Regions from separate parts of the Homo sapiens genome. Here region 1 is linked to region 2. The links are contacts of gene promoters, found by promoter capture Hi-C in human tissues and cell types (Jung and others, 2019). All regions are on one chromosome and are shown on one strand. Each heading gives the region's core, a stretch centred on a gene start or on the middle of the fragment in contact. The rest is flanking DNA. Distances are from core to core; before and after follow the strand shown. Region 1 holds the start of CILP2 (cartilage intermediate layer protein 2). Region 2 holds the start of GMIP (GEM interacting protein).

The links. Contacts are between HindIII fragments. The study calls those that stand out against the background at their distance.
Region 1: a contact is called between the fragment with the promoter of CILP2 here and the fragment with the promoter of GMIP in region 2, in 2 of the 25 tissues and cell types used here (lymphoblastoid cells and mesenchymal stem cells).

The regions. Positions count from the first base shown.
Region 1 is chr19:19,536,154-19,540,086 of GRCh38, forward strand. CILP2 (cartilage intermediate layer protein 2) reads left to right here and starts at 2,112. Exons shown (of 8, transcript NM_153221.2): 1 at 2,112-2,260; 2 at 3,526-3,624. The coding sequence starts at 2,197. YJEFN3 (YjeF N-terminal domain containing 3) reads left to right here. Exons shown (of 7, transcript NM_198537.4): 7 at 1,166-1,428. The coding sequence ends at 1,371. RefSeq lists a silencer at 1,988-2,357 and an enhancer at 3,450-3,933. The HindIII fragment of the contact is 34,738 bases long and covers 1-3,933 here.
Region 2 is chr19:19,639,798-19,645,044 of GRCh38, forward strand. It overlaps GMIP (GEM interacting protein), which reads right to left and starts at 3,860. Exons shown (of 21, transcript NM_016573.4): 1 at 3,714-3,860; 2 at 2,738-2,822; 3 at 2,179-2,254; 4 at 2,013-2,070; 5 at 649-774; 6 at 499-563; 7 at 288-395. The coding sequence starts at 3,732. RefSeq lists enhancers at 2,737-3,692, 2,914-3,073 and a silencer at 3,704-3,953. The HindIII fragment of the contact is 23,421 bases long and covers 1,753-5,247 here.

The DNA.
Region 1 (3,933 bases), core at 862-3,361, 110 kb before region 2:
CGGCGTGCTGTCTGATCTGAGTAGGGAGGCTGCAGGCTCAGCCTAGGACAGAGAGGGTGGCTCTGTCAGGTCAGAGGGGATGGTTAGGAACCTCTAGTCTGAGGGTGGTGGCTAGGGTCAGAGAAGGATTAAAGTCTGAGGGAGGATCCAGTGTCTTCTGGTGAGTGGCCCCAGAATCAAGTCAGAGATAGGAGAGAAGGCAAGGCTCCTAGGCTGAAAGTGGAGGCTCATTCAAGAGGTGACGGAGGCTGGGTGCAGGGGTCACACCTGTAATCCCAGCACTTTGGGAGGTCGAGGTGGGCGGGTCACCTGATGTCAGGAGTTCCAGACCAGCCTGGCCAACATGGCGAAACCCAGTCTCTACAAAATACAAACATTTGCTGGGTGTAGTGGTGCACGCCTGTAGTCCTAGTTACTTGGGAGGCTGAGGCAGGAGAATCGCTTGAACCCGGGAGGCAGAGGTTGCTGTGAGCTGAGATCGTGCCACTGCACTCCAGCCTGGGCAATAGAGAGAGACTGTATCTTAAAAACAAACAGGCTGGGCGCAATGGCTCACACCCATAATCCTAGCACTTTGGGAGGCCGAGGTGGGCAGATCACAAGGTCAGGAGTTCGAGACCAGCCTGGCCAATATGGTGAAACTCCATCTCTACTAAATATACAAAAATTAGCCAGGCATGGTGGCGTGTGCCTGTAGTCCCAGCTACTCGGGAGGCTGAGACAGGAGAATTGCTTGAACCCGTGTGGCAGAGGTTGCAGTGAGCCGAGATTGCACCATTGCACTCCAGCCTGGGTGACTGAAGACAGAGGCTGGGTCAGATGGAGGAGGGCGATTGAATAGTAGGATAGGAGCAGAAGCAGAAAGTCTGAGTGCAGAAGCTCTGGTCTGATTGGGAGGGAAACACCTCCAAGGACTGGGAGAGACTTGTCTGAGGGCGGAGGCAGAGTTCTAGGGGGCGACAAGTCTCACCAGGACCCATGTGCCAGAGAGAAAAGGCTGGGTCTGATGGGGGAGGGGAAGTGGGGGTGGGGCAGCAGGACTCTGGTCTGAGGGCAGAGGCTCAGTGTTGGAGGGGAGAGGAGAGGAGGCAGGGACAGGATGGACTCTAGGCTGAGGGCAGGCCACCCTCCCAGTTCCCAATCCCCCCGGACCCTCCTCCCTCAGGCTGGGACGCAGAGACCGGCAGCGATTCGGAGGACGGGCTGCGGCCTGACGTGCTGGTGTCTCTCGCGGCGCCCAAGCGCTGCGCTGGCCGCTTCTCCGGGCGCCACCACTTCGTGGCCGGCAGGTTCGTGCCCGATGACGTGCGCCGCAAGTTCGCTCTGCGCCTGCCGGGATACACGGGCACCGACTGCGTCGCGGCACTGTGACCGCCACCCGCGGCCACACCGCAGGGACCCTCGCCAATAAACAGCCCTCCCACCACCGCCGCCTCGCCTCCGCCTCCTTTGTGCACCGGGCCCGCTGCGGGGGTGGGCACACTCGAAGAGGGACTTCACACGGTCCCTGGGTGATCCAAGGCGGGGAGCATGAGAAGGGCGGTGGAGTGGGACTTCCCGCTGGCCTAGAAAACTTCAGCTAGGGCTGGGGGCGGTGGCTCCTGCCTGTAATCTCAGCACTTTGGGAGGCTGAGGCTGGAGGATCGCTTAAGGCCAGGAGTTTGGGACCAGCCTGGGCAACATAGCAAGATCCCGACTCTACAAATTAAAAGAAAAAGAAGAAAGAAAACTCGAGCCAGAAGAATGGAGGGTAGATTCAGGGTGGGACTCCCAGACTGTTTGGGGTGGCCTAAAGCCTATAGGATCGAAGTGAGACGCGAGACAGGACTTCCAGCCACCTAAAGCGGGTCCGAGCAGCTTGAGGCTGGATTCCAAGTGACACTTCCCTCAGGCAGCTTGGGATGCAGCTTGGAGGACTGAGTGGGCTCGGGGAGGGAGTTCCAGCAGGCCACGGGGAACCCAGGACAGCCTGAGGACGGAGGCACAGCCAGACGCACCAAGGGGGGCGACCCAGAGGGGTTGCTCGAGCGCCGTCACCCAGGGCCAGGGGGCGTGGCCTGAATGGGGCGTGGCCAGGGCGGGATCTGCGGTCGCATCCCGCCCCCACTCTCAGTCCCAGCGGCCGCCAGACCCGCCGGAGTTGGACCCGAGCACGCCGCGGAGCCCGGACCCTCCCTCGGACGCTCTGCCCCGGCCATGGCGTCGCTGCTGCCACTGCTCTGTCTCTGTGTCGTCGCTGCGCACCTGGCGGGGGCCCGAGGTGAGGCGCCTCCAGCCCCCGCGCCCAGCCCCTGAGGCTCCCGAGGGCCTGGCAGCCGGCCTTGGGTGAAGCCGCACTCGGGGAGAGAACCCAGGGACCCACGCGCTTCCCCGGGGACTGGGTCCCCTTCACCAGTCGGATCCCCGCGACCACCTGGGGCGCGGAGCGGGCCTCATCCATTCTCTTCCTTGGCTAAGCCGGGAGTGTGGATAAGAACCTAGGGTTCCTCCCGGGGTTTGGACTCTGAATCACCGGCCAGGTCTCCCACCCTGGACCGAAGGGGTCGGAACTGGCCCCTCCCACCTAACTCCCACACACGCACTCACTCCAACCGCTGGAGAAAGAAATGCCCATCCCTGGAACACTCAATGGGGCGGGGGACGGGCCCACTTCTCAAGTGAGGAGACTGAGGCACCCAGAAGGAAGGGGCTTGTCTGACCTCATCACTCTGCTGGGAGTATCTTGGACAGCTCCTATCTTGGAGAAGCCAGTCTAGATTCCAAGGACTTCCCGGCAGCTCGGACTGTAGTACAGGGATGGAAGACAGACTAAGGGAGGGGCTTCCAGCAGGCCAAGTGGATGAGGGGGAGCCCAGCCTGAGGGCAGAGGCACAGCCAGCTGAACTTGATTGATCTCGCGGCAGCTGAACATAGTGGGAGGGAGACTCTAGCCTAGGGGAACTGGGTGGTACTTGCACTTCCCCAGCCGGGGGGTTAGGGCTAGGTCAGAGAGAGGTACCTGGCTTTGGGGGCCTGGTGGTGGTCATGGGCAGCGCGCTGGAGGAGAGTGTATGGCAGCCCTTGGGGCTAGAGCTGGGTTCTGGCCTCTCAGAGCCTCAATTTTCCCTCCTGTTAAAATGGGGATCATGGGCCAAGCACGGTGGCTCACGCCTGTAATCCCAGCACTTTGGGAGGCCGAGGCGGGCGGACTACCTGAGGTCAGGAGTTTGAGACCAACCTGGCCAACATGGTGAAACCCCGTCTCTACTAAAAATATAAAAATTAGCTAGGCCTGGTGGAGCGTGCCTGTAATCCCAGCTACTCAGGAGGCTGAGGTGTGAGAATCACTTGAACCCAGGAGGCAGAGGCTGCAGTGAGCCGAGATCGTGCCACTGCACTCCAGCCTGGGTGACAGAGGGAGATTCCGTCTCAAAAAAAAAAAAAAAAAGGGGGGGGATGATCGTGGCTGCACCTTGCCTAAAAGGAGGCTCCCAGCGGTCCCCATCAGTAGCAGCGTGCTTCCTTCTCCCCACTCCTCACCCACAGACGCCACCCCCACCGAGGAGCCAATGGCGACTGCACTGGGCCTGGAAAGACGGTCCGTGTACACCGGCCAGCCCTCACCAGCCCTGGAGGACTGGGAAGGTGAGTTAGCCTGCCTCGGAGTCCCGTCTCTGCTGCGGGCTTGTTGGGGGTGGGGCTTGGGCTACTGGGGTCGTGTGAGGAGAGGGCACACACTAGACGAAGGGCCCGGCGCCGTCCTGGTCCCCGGACATGACAGCCCCTGGAGGTGATGCCCCAAGTTCAAGATCTAAGTGAGAGGCCGGTCAGACAGAGGCAAGAGCTCAGCGCACCGGGATGGACCAGGTCAGGCCCTGGGCGGCAGAACTGGGGTCGCGGGGAACCCAGTCTGCCCTGCACCTGTTTCAGGCCGCTGGCTCGGGTCGTGGGCGC
Region 2 (5,247 bases), core at 2,610-5,109:
GAGATCGCACCATTGCACCCCAGCCTGGGCAAAAGAGCAAGATATTCTGTCTCAAGAAAAAAAGTAAAGTGAAGTTTTGCAATTGCACAGGAAGCCCAGCTTGAATCTTTGCTGGGTAACCTTGGGCAAGTTCCCAAGCATCCCCGGGCCTCAGCTTCCTCATCAATGAAATGGCGACGTTGGTAGTGGTGCCTTCCTCCCAGCTTGCTGGGAAACGAGGGGATCAGGCCTGAAGGACAGCAGGATAGCAGGGTGACCTCTGTAACATTCCACCCTGCCCCCCTCACCTGGTAGTAGTCTCTTTTCTGCTGGGCCACTGTCTCCATGGCCAGGGTTCCCAGGCTGAGATCGTGCTCCAGAAACAGGGTGTAGATGTACTGCAGAGGCATGTGGCTCTGGGGAAGACAGAGTGGTGTAGGAGGATACTGAAGATCTGTGGGGGACAAAGGTGGGGTTCTAGGGGGCTTGGGCTCTCCGGGGGGGTCTGGTCATGACTACCTGCTGTTGAATGGACACCTTGCCAGCTTCAGCGATCTTCATGGTGCTCTTAGCAAACTCCAGCTCTGGGGGAAGAGAGAGCCGGGCTCTGGGTCTAGCTGGGGTCTGGGGACTGCCTGGTAACTGGGGCTGGGCGGAAGAGGTCCTCACCATAGCTGGCTCTCTTTTCAGTCCAGGCAAGCAGTTCCTTGGCATAGCGGCTCCAGGTCTTGGCATATTCCAGGGCTGCGTCCACACCCCCCTTTGTCCGAATGAGCCGCAAGTCCAGTTCCTCCCCTGGGGAAGATGGATGGACCTCTGACCTTTGCACCCTAGTCTGCTATGGATGTCTTCCCTAAGCCCCCAGACCAGCCCAGTGGCACCTGTCCTACAGCCTCACAGCTCCCCAAACACTACTTTGGGATCACTTGTCCTGGTTGCAATTTTACAGATTCACTGTTTTTTGTTTTTTATTTTTTATTATTTTATTATTTATTTATTTATTTTTGAGACTGTGTTTCGCTCTTGTTGCCCAGGCTAGAGTGCAATGGCGCGATTTTGGCTCACCAAAACCTCTGCCTCCCGGGTTCAAGCGATTCTCCTGCCTCAGCCTCCTGAGTAGCTGGGATTACAGGCATGCGCCACCATGCCCGGCTAATTTTTTGTATTTTTAGTAGAGACGAGGTTTCTCTATGTTGGTCAGGCTGGTCTCGAACTCCCAATCTCAGGTGATCTGCCCGCCTCGGCCTCCCAAAGTGCTGGGATTACAGGCATGAGCCACCGTGCCCGGCCTGTGTTTGATGGGTTTTTTTATTTTTATTTTTGAGGCGGAGTCTCGCTCTGTCGCTCAGGCTGGAGTGCAATGGCCCTATTTTGCCTCACTGCAAGCTCCGCCTCCTGGGTTCCCGCCATTCTCCTGCCTCAGCCTCCCGAGTATCTGGGACTACAGGCACTCGCCACTGCGCCCGGCTAAATTTTTTTGTATTTTTAGTAGAGATGGGGTTTCACCATGTTAGCCAGGATGGTCTCGATCTCCTGACCTCGTGGTCCACCCGCCTCAGCCTCCAAAGTGCTGGGATTACAGGCGTGAGCCACTGCGTCCGGCCTTGTGTTTGATTTTTTTGGACATGGTCTTGCTCTGTCATCCAGGCTGGAGTGCAGTGGCACAATCGTATCTCACTGCAGCCTCAAAGTCCTGGGCTTAATCAGTCCTCCAGCCTCAGCTTCCAAAGTAGCTGGGACTACAGGCACACACCACCACACCCAGCTAATTAAAAAAATATTTTTTCTTTTGGTAGGGATGGTGTCTTACTGTTGCCCAGCATGGTCACGAATTCCTGGCTTCAAGTGATCCTCCTACCTCAGCCTCCACCCTGCCTGGGGTCTCCCTGAGGGCTGGGACTGAGATCTGTTGTGTGTACTGCCATATTCCCAAAACCTAAACGATGCCTTGCATGGAACAGGGGATCAGTGGTGATTTGTTGAAGGAAAGACTCCTGTCTGTCCCCACTGTCCTGGCCTCCAGACCCCCCTACCTGTGAGGGGTACAGGACCCTCTGGGGAGGGGCCGCTCCAACAGCTGGCTTCGTTGGTCTGTGCGGGAGGGAGACAGTATTCAGAAGCAAACAGGGCAGGGGCCTGGCCTTCCTAAGGCCCCCTCTGCTTGAGGTCTTCCTCCCTGTTCCCCTACTCCCCACTCACAACAGTGGCTGTAGGGGTCTTGTCAGGTTCTGGGTCTTCTGAGAGTAGAGGGTCTCCAGCCAGCATCTCAAGGGTCCTGGGGGATAAAGGTGTGTCAGGATGCCACCTTACACCCAGTCTGTCCTGCCAAGGGGTGCTGGGGACCTTAGGGTTGTTTGTGGCAAACATCACCTCTGTGGCATCTCTTGTGTCTGGGAGGTCTGAAGAATGGTGTTTTGGGGGAATCAGGTGAGTTTTTTTTAAATAGGACTTGAAAAAGCATCTGAAGGGCCCCAGATAACTTTGAGGTTCATAGAGTGGGATTATAGGGATCGCAAATATTTTAAGGGGTTACAAGGATATGTAGGGGTTCTAGGACCACTTTGGGGATTTCCAGTCTATTTAGGGGGACACTTTTAGGATACCGAGGCATTTTGGAGGGTCCCATCCTAGACTTCTCTGGTTATTAGGTATGTAGGTCCAGATGTTACAGGTTCCAAATGGGACTGCAAGGCACCTAAATGGTTAGGGGCTTGGGGCATCTTGGCAGGATTTGGGGGTGATCCAGGCTCAGACTCACACGTTCCCCAGTGAGATTTCGAGGTTGTCCAGGCTCCGGAAGATGTCACTGTACCTCTTCCTGCCCTCAGGACCTGGGGGGAGTCCTAGGGGAGGGGAGTGTAATACATGGGCTAACCACTGCCTCCCTCCACCCACGGCACCTCAACCAGTCTCATTTGGAGGGGGTGGAAGAGAAAGGGAAGAGTGAGAGAGAGAAAGAGAGGGCTGGGGGGGGCTTGGTTGGGGCCAACTCGAGGCAGGCAGATGGACTCACACACCACCAGAGACCAGAGACAGCTGCTCGGGGAACAGAGACACCCACTCCCTGGGTCTGCCTGCACCCAGAAGCAAACCAACAAAACAGATGCCCCAGATGCAACCAGGCTGTCCCGAGAAGAAAGCCGGTCTGACAATGGAACCACGGGCTAGACAGATGGAAATACACAAGGGACAGCCAGGCAGAGCCTGGGGCAGAAACACACATGGAGAGACTGAAGCCGTGAGGGACATAAAGACCGAATGACACTCCACATACACAACACAGACACAAAGACGGCCGGAAACACCAAGTCGGACCCCGCCACATTTCTACTGCTGCCCCCCTGCCCCCTCTCCTAAGGGGCCTAGACCAGCACTGCCGACTCCCCAGGGCTACAGAGGGGCCCTGTGGGGATCCTACCGCGTTGCCCTCTCCCTCAGCAGTCGTGGCACCCTGCCCCCATCACAAAAATCAGAAGCAGAAGCAGTCACTTCCCCTTCCTGGGCCCCCTCCCCCAGGCGTCTGGGGTGAGGGATCAAAAGGGGGAGGGGGAGTGAAGGGCTGGGGTCCTGAACCCATCCGGGCACAGGGCTCCCCACAATGGAGGATCCCTGGGTCCTTCCCATTCAGGAACTCCTCTCCTGGCTCTCAGGACGGAGCGGGACAAGTGTGTGCCCTCAATGTAGGAAGCAGGGGATGGTCGGGGGAGGCCCCTCCCGGATCCCCGACCCCCTACCCGGCTCTGCTGCGTCCATATCTGGGCCCGGGGATCGCTCTGCAGGGACCGGGATGGGGATGGGGTCGCGCGCCGGCGGGGCCGAGCCCCGATTTCCTGCCGCCGCAGCCGCCGCCGCCGCCTCGGTTCCGCGTCGCCCTGCCCAGCGGAGGCCACGCCCCCGCATCAGACCACGCCCCCGTAGCCCGGAAGCCTTGATAGTGCCCTTCTCTACCTGAGCCGCTTGAAACTGGGTCGGGCCAGGGCCCCCTGAGCGACCACTCGAGGCTGCAGTGCCCCTGACCTGGGCATCCTAAGACTTCATCTGGGCCATAGGTTCCCTCTCAGATCTTTGTGCTACCCCAAATCCCACGGAGCCCCAGCCCCCTCCTCCCTGAATGGTTGCAGAGTCCACCTGTCCCGGGGGGCCTCTCCCAGGAGCTCCCACAACCCGCGACCCTGGTGATCCCCTTGCCCAGGTTGTCTCTCGGAGCCCTGAAACCACCTGGGCCTCGCTGGAGCCATGGCGCCCCCTGGTGGAGGCCTGATATTCTGTCCGATTCCAACCAAAATTCTAATACTCGGGCTGGAGAACCCCTGGCCTGGGGGACGCCCCTTCCGTGACCCTCAAAGCTGGATCAGGCTCAAGGCCCCAATTACAGCACACCAGGGAGCAGCCCTTTTAGGTAGGGAGTGGAGGTTTGTCCAAAAGCACCAGCTCTGGGGTTGCCACAAGCCGCCTGTTATAAAAATGCTCCCACCCCCAGCACAGTGGAATTTTGGGGCTGGAAATAGACTTTAAAGTATGTTTATAACTTTGTGTCCAAAGGCTTTGGCTGTTAAGGAGGCAAGGATTCTCTGACTGGCTCCGTGCTGCCTACTCTGCAGTTCTTGAGTTGTGATGAGTGAGTCCATTGAAAGGAATAACACTATCAACCTAAGAGCCAAGCCAGGTTTCCAGGTCACATCCTGGCTGATGCTCAGCCAGAGCTCCCTGACTGTGACATGAGATGGTAGAGCAGCGCAGGCCCCCAAAGAGCATGACAGAGTCAGTACTTGTTTGTTTTTCTTTTGAGTTGGAGTCTCGCTCTGTTGCCCAGGCTGGAGTGCAGTGGCGTTATCTCGGCTCACTGCAAGCTCCACCTCCTGGGTTCACGCCATTCTCCTGCCTCAGCCTCCCGAGTAACTGGGACTACAGGCACTCGCCACCATGCCTGGCTAATTTTTTGTATTTTTAGTAGAGATGGGGTTTCACTGTGTTAGCCAGGATGGTCTCGATCTCCTGACCTTGTGATGGGCCCGCCTTGGCCTCCCAAAGTGCTGGGATTACAGGCTTGAGCCACCGGACAGAGTCAATACTTGTAATGATGCAGATCATATTCCTCAAGTCTCAGACACCACCCGAGAGAAAGGCATGCTGTTATGTATTATGGGAAAGAAAAAAATATCACACATCCTAAGGCTTCTCTCAGCACCTGAGTTGTTAAAATGTGAAAGAGACCTCAGAAATATGGGGGTGCTTGTTAAACTAGAAAATATGCACTGAATTCTCTGG